Linked DNA regions of Homo sapiens: region 1 is linked to region 2. Evidence: promoter capture Hi-C in 16 types of primary human blood cells and fetal thymus (Javierre and others, 2016). All regions are on one chromosome and are shown on one strand. The core of a region is centred on a gene start or on the middle of the fragment in contact, and the rest is flanking DNA. Distances in the headings are between cores, read along the strand shown. Region 1 overlaps LOC124901056 (a long non-coding RNA gene). Region 2 holds the start of MARCHF3 (membrane associated ring-CH-type finger 3).

What was found. Contacts are between HindIII fragments. The CHiCAGO score rates a contact against its expected background, and 5 or more counts as called.
Region 1: a contact is called between a fragment that was not itself captured here and the fragment with the promoter of MARCHF3 in region 2, in 1 of 17 cell types (non-activated CD4 T cells). The highest score is 5.7, in non-activated CD4 T cells.

The regions. Positions count from the first base shown.
Region 1 is chr5:126,348,365-126,351,928 of GRCh38, forward strand. All of the region lies in intron 1 of LOC124901056 (a long non-coding RNA gene), which reads right to left. Among named protein-coding and RNA genes, the nearest start is that of GRAMD2B, 73 kb to the right of the region's middle. The HindIII fragment of the contact is 1,285 bases long and covers 1,467-2,751 here.
Region 2 is chr5:127,028,452-127,032,089 of GRCh38, forward strand. It overlaps MARCHF3 (membrane associated ring-CH-type finger 3), which reads right to left and starts at 2,107. Exons shown (of 5, transcript NM_178450.5): 1 at 1,899-2,107. LOC105379163 (a long non-coding RNA gene) reads left to right here and starts at 2,892. Exons shown (of 2, transcript XR_007058920.1): 1 at 2,892-3,638. RefSeq lists a silencer at 2,069-2,448 and an enhancer at 2,445-2,989. The HindIII fragment of the contact is 7,560 bases long and covers 1-3,638 here.

The sequences.
Region 1 (3,564 bases), core at 859-3,358, 680 kb before region 2:
GGTGAATGGCACTCAACAAACGCTGAAGTGAATTCAATCTCTCAGCCCATGGACCACATTAACAACAAGATGAGATAAGGTATTTAGGTCAGCTTAAATTTTGTGTCCCAAAGATGAGCTCCATTTTCACCCATCACAATTGTGTCTCTGATAAGTCAGCAGAAATTGAAAATGCTAATCTTTCCTCCTCTAACTTCCAGATTGAGGGTAACATCCCAAATATGCAGGGAATAGCTTAAGGATAGCATCATTGACCCTATTTCAACTCTTTCTACTGATAGAAAAGAATGATGATTTCAGGTATCATGTCCTACCTTCTATTACAGTCTACAAACCTCCTGGCAGAGACACCAACTGTGAGAGCAGTCACTGCTGTATGGAAGATAATACGTCTGCCCAGTGCAGCCTCCTGGGCAGAGACAAATCTATTGGCTGTTTCAAGGCCACGAACATATAACATTTAAATGTGAATTTTGGCAAATATGAAATATTAATTTTTTTTACCAGTCTATATGACTTCCATTTTCCCACCCCCTTCTAAGAAATATACAATTTTCCTGCTGAAAACTTTTCTCCAAGTGATACCTCGTGACATAATCCTAGATGGTATTTCCGGGGAAAATAAAGAACATGTCTAGATAACATTGGCTTCAGTGATAGCAATGTTTAGCTTTCACTTTCCTCTTAAGTTTTCTTGGAAACAATGCCTTATACTGGTAGCTTTTTCTGGCTTAGTGGAGCATGAGGATTCTTTTTTCAATCAAATGCAGTCCTATAGCACTGCAGTGTTGATGGTGTTTTGCTTTGCTGTTTGTTGTTTTTGTTCTGTTGCTGATTGCCACTGATCTGTTGGATGTTTGACCCCTTATTGGTTTATTTGGAGACTGAAACCCAATAAAATCCAAATCAACACTACAATACAGTGGATGCAGAAAAAAAAAAAGTTGCCAGCCTAACAATGCTTTCCTTAACAAACCACTAGAGATACCCAGTCTCATATTTCACTTGAAAGTCAATGAGAAGAACCATTTGTTCTGTATTGTCCTACTCCTTAATGAGCTTAACAAAGAAGTAGAGAAGTGCTCAAATCAGCGTACAGCTCAATAAACTTTCACAAAGCAAGCCTACCAAAGCAACCAGTGCTCAGACCATAATCAGCACACAAAAGCCCCATTTGTGCTCACTCCTCAAGATACCCCCCACCCAAAACAACCTCTATCCTGCTTTAACTAGAGATTAGTTTTGCCTGTTTTGAGCTTTACATAAATGGACTCGTTCAGTGTGTACTTTCATGTCGATTTATTTTCCATACATTATATGTGTGAGATCCATCTTTGTTTTTGCATGTGTCAATGATTTGTGCATTGTCATGGCTATATAGAATTTTTGTTTCAAGAGCATCTAAGCAAACAAGTATTCTGAGGAAAACGCTTTGAGATACATGGATCCCAGTGTTAGAATATAAAAGCTTTAATCAAAAGAGCAAAAAGTAAATAAGACCACCTCTGGAAACAGCCTGAAGTCAATTGTTAAGAAGCAGCTGTTTCAGGAGAGAAGTAGAATGGTAAAAAGCTCTATGGATATGTTAATTTGCCTGATTTGATCATTCTACAATGAATAAGTGTATCAAAACATCACATTGTCCCCCATGAATATGTACAATTATTATTTATCAAAAATACAACTAAAGAGAGCTCTCAGATAAATCAGAAAGGCCATCTTAGAAATACCCAGAACTGAGTCAGGGATCTTGGCTTAAAGGGAAATAAGACAGCCTTCCAAAAAGGTTTTGATTTAGGCTGTCTTTGTTCTCATCTCTTCAGCAAAACCTCTTTTTTGCCTCTCCAGTTCCGACTTTAGAGCCCTAACTGTTCTGAAGCCAATACCCCACTTAGGGATCAAGTTTTGCCACAGCTTTCCACACATTGTATATACATGACCTAACCATTCCTCATGGGAAAGAATATTAGCATTCTGTTGCTACCTCTTTAAAACACAATATCTTGGCTGGGCGCAGTGGCTCACGCCTGTAATCCCAGCACTTTGGGAGGCCGAGGCGGGCGGATCACGAGGTCAGGAGATCGAGACCATCCTGGCTAACACAGTGAAACCTGTCTCTACTAAAAATACAAAAAATTAGCTGGGCATGGTGGTGGGCACCTGTAGTCCCAGCTACTCGGGAGGCTGAGGCAGGAGAATGGCGTGAACCCAGGAGGCAGAGCTTGCAGTGAGCCGAGATCGTGCCACTGCACTCCAGCCTGGGTGACAGAGTGAGACTCTTTCAAAAAAAAAAAAAAATGATTTCTTGTATTATTATCAAAAGCTCTCCAGATTGAGGGTAACATCCCAAATATGCAGGGAATACCTTAAGGACAAAATTGTAAGTTTGATACTTTGTAAGTTTGATACTTCAGTGCTGCCACTTTATGAAACTTTCTAAGTTACTATTGTTACTAGCTAACTGATATTTAAGGCACTAACATTTTTACCAATATTTCATAATACTAGCACTGAAGAGAAGTTTTTATTCTGTTATGAAGATGTTAATTAAAGCAATTATCAAAATGGTCCCATAAACATTGAGACCATATTCTGAAAATATAATTACCCTTTATTGTTTTTCTCTTCCTTGAAAAAAAAAAGCCCAAATTCACAAAAAACTTTAGTTTCATAAAACTCATTTGAAGTACATTCAGTAGTTTTTTAAAAGATATTAGTTTCAGTGGCTCTGGAAAATATTCCAAGAATCTAAGCTTTTTCCTACATTCTTCTACTTACGTGAGATTAAGTCTATGATAGAGTTCAAGTGTCCTGGCTTTAAATATTTAACAGGAACAAGAGTAGAGGTGTTGGAATATTTACCAGGGTATTAGTAAGAGGAAGGAGTGGTTTGTCAGCACATGGTTATTTGAATTCTAGCTATAAATCCAAACCCAGATAAGAAGACACCAAAAGTTCATTTCATCAGCTACCAAGATACACTGAAAAATTTAAAGTGGTCATAAATTGTATTAGCTCCTCCCATCAAGAGATAGATTATTTCCCCACCATGTGAATCTAAGTTGGATGACTCATGACTGCTTGGACTGATAGAATAAGTCAGAAGTGATGTTATGTGACTTTTGAGCTTGAGCTTCAAGAAGCTTGCAATTTTGCTCTTGCCTTCTGGACTTGAGGCCTTCGTGTAAGAAAAGTGAGAGAGGCCACTGCAGGGAGAGACCAGGCGGAACACACTCTGAAGGCCCCAACAAACCTGTCTTAGTCCATTTGTGCTGCTATCACAGAATACCCAGACTGAGTATCAAGAACAGAAGTGTCTCAGTTCTGGAGGCTGGGAAGACAAAGATCAAGGGGCCAGCATCTGATGAGGGCTGCTCACTGCTTCCAAGATGGTGCTTTGGATAGTGCATCCCCAGAGAGGAGAAATGCTGTGTCCTCCCTTAGCAGAAGGACAAAGAGCAAGTCTACTCCCACAAGCTCTTCCTATAACAGCATTAATTCATCAGGGCTCAGCCAAACACATCCCAAAAGCCCCACCTCCCAGCACTGTTGCACTGGGGGTTA
Region 2 (3,638 bases), core at 857-3,356:
TGAATATATGTCCAGGTTATAAATTCCTAAAAGTATGTTTCATTAGAAATACCAAGGCAGTCTTAATTATAGCCTCTGCAATAAAGCTCTGTTTACTTCTATTAAGGTAGGTTTTTTTTTTTTTTTGGTGCAAAATGATTCAGTTTTAATGCATTATTTTAACAAGCAAAAGCAAACAGTTTCTGATATACATGCCATACTGCAAAGCTGTAAACCCGTGTTGCATGGTGATGTGACAAGCACCACATTTCTGGAGGGATTTTTTTTTCTCTCCTACAAGCTCCCCCTCCCCAAGCCGTGGCTATAATTATTTCACAAAATGCAGTTTGCCATTTCTAGAGACAAACACTTCCTTCTCCCTCACCAAAACTTCAAGTTCAGGCCAAATATTGAATGAAAATAGAACTTGAGAGGCAGGCTTTGTTTGTAGCATGTTGTTTCTGCTAAGAGTTGCCCCCTACCCAGGCTCCACCCCAGTGGTCGGACTGAAGTGTACATGTTATGTTTTAACAGATGGGCCGGCTGGCGGCTGCTGGGCTGTAAAACAGGAACGCGGATTCTGCACTGAGTGGTATTGAACTGAACGCTCGTAAAGTTCATGGACATACTCTGACCCAGACAGACCAGGCAGATGCAGACATGCTTACGCATACACACTCACTAACACCCCACAGCTCAGAGGATCCATCTCTGTGACCCAAGGGAAGTTCAAGGCTGAATTTCCCCTTCATATATTTACCTCATTCACCTTTTAATTTTATATATACACACACTCACACATATACACGTATGTATGTGTGTATATGCGCATCTACATCTTCATATACACATACAGAACTATATATCTCAACATTTTCATGTATTTTCAAAGGTCTAAACATCCCCAAATTCTGGACCTGTTTCTGTCTAGTATTTTCAAAAGCTCTTATTCATGTCAAATAAGAATTGTAAGAAAATATCGTATTGAATTCTGTTTATTCCGCACATAATATAAACTACATGCATGTAGTTGGTCTCAGAAAAACAAGCTGCTTTTACCCCCTTACCATTAAGGGGGGAAAACAATCTAACCCAGACCGAGTCACAAACGGAGTGTCAGGTTTAACCTTGAGTTCTCTGCTGTCAATTCCTGACTCAACTTCATCACTTAAACACGCAGGTGCTCAAACAAACACCAACCGACCAGGCTGGCAATCCCTTTCGCAGCCTCTAGGATTCTCCAAGGCACTGGGCACCAGAACCGACAGCAGCTCCCGCCTGGTCCTAACGAAGTCCTTCGGACACCCCTTGCGGGTGGATGTGGAGGTCCGAGCACCTCAGGAGGGTCATGGATTCAAGTGCTAATAGAAAGCAATTACTTTAGAAAGTTCAAAGCCCAGCAGTGCTCTCAATTCCTCTCAGTAGCTGCAGAGCACTGAAGCCCCCGCTACAGAACCCGGCTGGTACTCCAGTTCTCTGGCGCTGAGACCCACCTTGAGCCCGATGAGCGCTCGCTCAGCCTTGAGATCCAGACGCGGACGCCGGGTCTTACCGTACCGCACAGCGCGGGTAATTTTTCAGGAACCGCGGTCCGCACGCCGCGGGCGCGGAGGCCGCCCCAGCGCTCCATGTCGTTGCCGCAGAGGGGCAGGGGACGCGTCCCGGCCCCACCTACCCATGTCAATTACGCCAAGTTGGTGCGGACTGGAACCGCGTCCCGGGCGGAGTTGGGATGCTTTGACAAGAAGAAGTTCGGGAGTGGGGATATTGGCACGGAGTAAATCCCGCCCAGCCCTGACCTCCCCACAGCGGTCACGCTCGGACGAACGGACCGCCGAGCGCCAGGACGCGTCCCGTCCCCTCTCGCCGCCGCCGAACCGCGCCGAGAGGAGCCGCTAGCCCGGCGCGCGGCCACTCACCGTCCTCGCCGAGTCCCGATAGCAAACCGACGTCCCTGCTGCGGTTCTAAGTGCCAAGTTGCCCCCAGTCGGTGGCTGCTCACGGCCCAGTGGACCAGGGCACATTGGTTCCGGCGGGCACCTCAGGGGGAGTGCGGCAAGCCTGGCGGCCGCCGCGGCCACACAGTCGCCCACAGCGCGCTGACAATTCACGGACCTGCTCAACGAGTGAGGCGGAAAGCAGGGCTAAGCCGACCAGGCTCTGGAGGGGAGGCGGGGCTGCCGCTAGGGGCGGAGCCAGCCCCGGGGCGTCATCAGCCCATGACTGGCGGAGCCGACAGCCAGTCGTGGTGGCGCTGGGACCGCCCCGTAACCGCCGTCCAGTCGCCTGCGGCCGAGGGCAGGCTGGCGGGACGCGCCGGCGGCGGGGAAGTTGGTTATTGCGAAGTGCCGTGGCTGCCGGCGGGCGCTGCGGGACTCTCTGCAATGGGACCCGAGCAGCTCTAGAGGGAGGCGGCGGCCCCAGAAGGCCGTTGGCTGAGAGAGACCAGGAGCCCTCGGAGCCGCCGCGCGCATAGCGCTGTGGAGCAAGAAGCCAACCGCAGCGCGGGTCGACACGCCAGTATCTGGCACCGGCAGGAGGCGCGGAACTTAGCTGCCCCATCGGAACCCCGCCCGGAGGAAGCTGAGGGCCGAGAAAGGATGAATTCCGGACCGGGTCGCCCAGCCACAAGTGGAAACCTGGGCTCTCTGGAAAACGTTCTGATCTCGATCTGGCTATCTCTGAAACAAAACTCCAGCCCCGCAAACCTCCCAAAGTTCAGTACACGTCCCCGTCCTCACCCCTGCCCTCCGGGCCACCTGCAGCGGGGGACTTACCGGCGCCTCGGGTCTCCTCCTCCCGACCCAGCGCGTCGCGGACACAGCTGGCGGCCAACAGGAGGCTTGGGCGCTCGACGGCGCCGGAACCTGTGAGACCGTCGCTCTGGGCGGGCTGCCGTGCGGGGTGGCATCCTCTGCGGTGACTTCTGCTGTCTTTTGGGTCCGCCAGGATTCCAAAATCCCAGGCGGGTCGCTAGAATTATCCATCTTCGTGGACAGGAAGCCCCAGAACGAACCACATCTGTCCCACTCTGCTTCCGCCCTCCTTCCCCTTCGCAAGCTCCTGGCTGGGATGGAGACATCGGACGAGCTCGGAGATCCCGACCTCTCAGGGGTCACTCGCAGCCGAACAGCCTGGAATATGGCCTTGTGGGCCCTTCCCGCCCAACCCCCTAGGACCCCACTGCTCATCTTGTCAACCAGTTTCTGAGCCCCTACCCTGGCTGCAGCACGTGCTCGCACAGGCGCGCTGAGCTACTAACATAGAATCAAAAGCAGGGAGTTGGGTGTTCTTGCTTTCCCGCTGAAACCTAGAATGTAAACAAGCCCTAGACCGTCAGCTGTGGGTGGGTAGGGGCCTCTCCCTGCCTAGAACTGCTCTTGCCATGGGTAGGCACCTAACCCGTATTAGTAAGAATGAAGGAATGCATGCTCATAACAAGAAAGGGGTCAACCTGCTGCCCTGATACTCACCTTCACCACTTACGTCTTGCTTCCAGCGCAAGCCCACTTCAGACCATTGCCTCATTCAGGTCCCAGAAGTCCTAAGGGTTTTAGTCTCTCAGTATGGGCAATTATTCACATGTAAGGGAGCTGCAAGGTGTTATTTCAATGCCATCTGGCCTCTATAAGGTCTTGCATCATAGCTGACCTCTCATG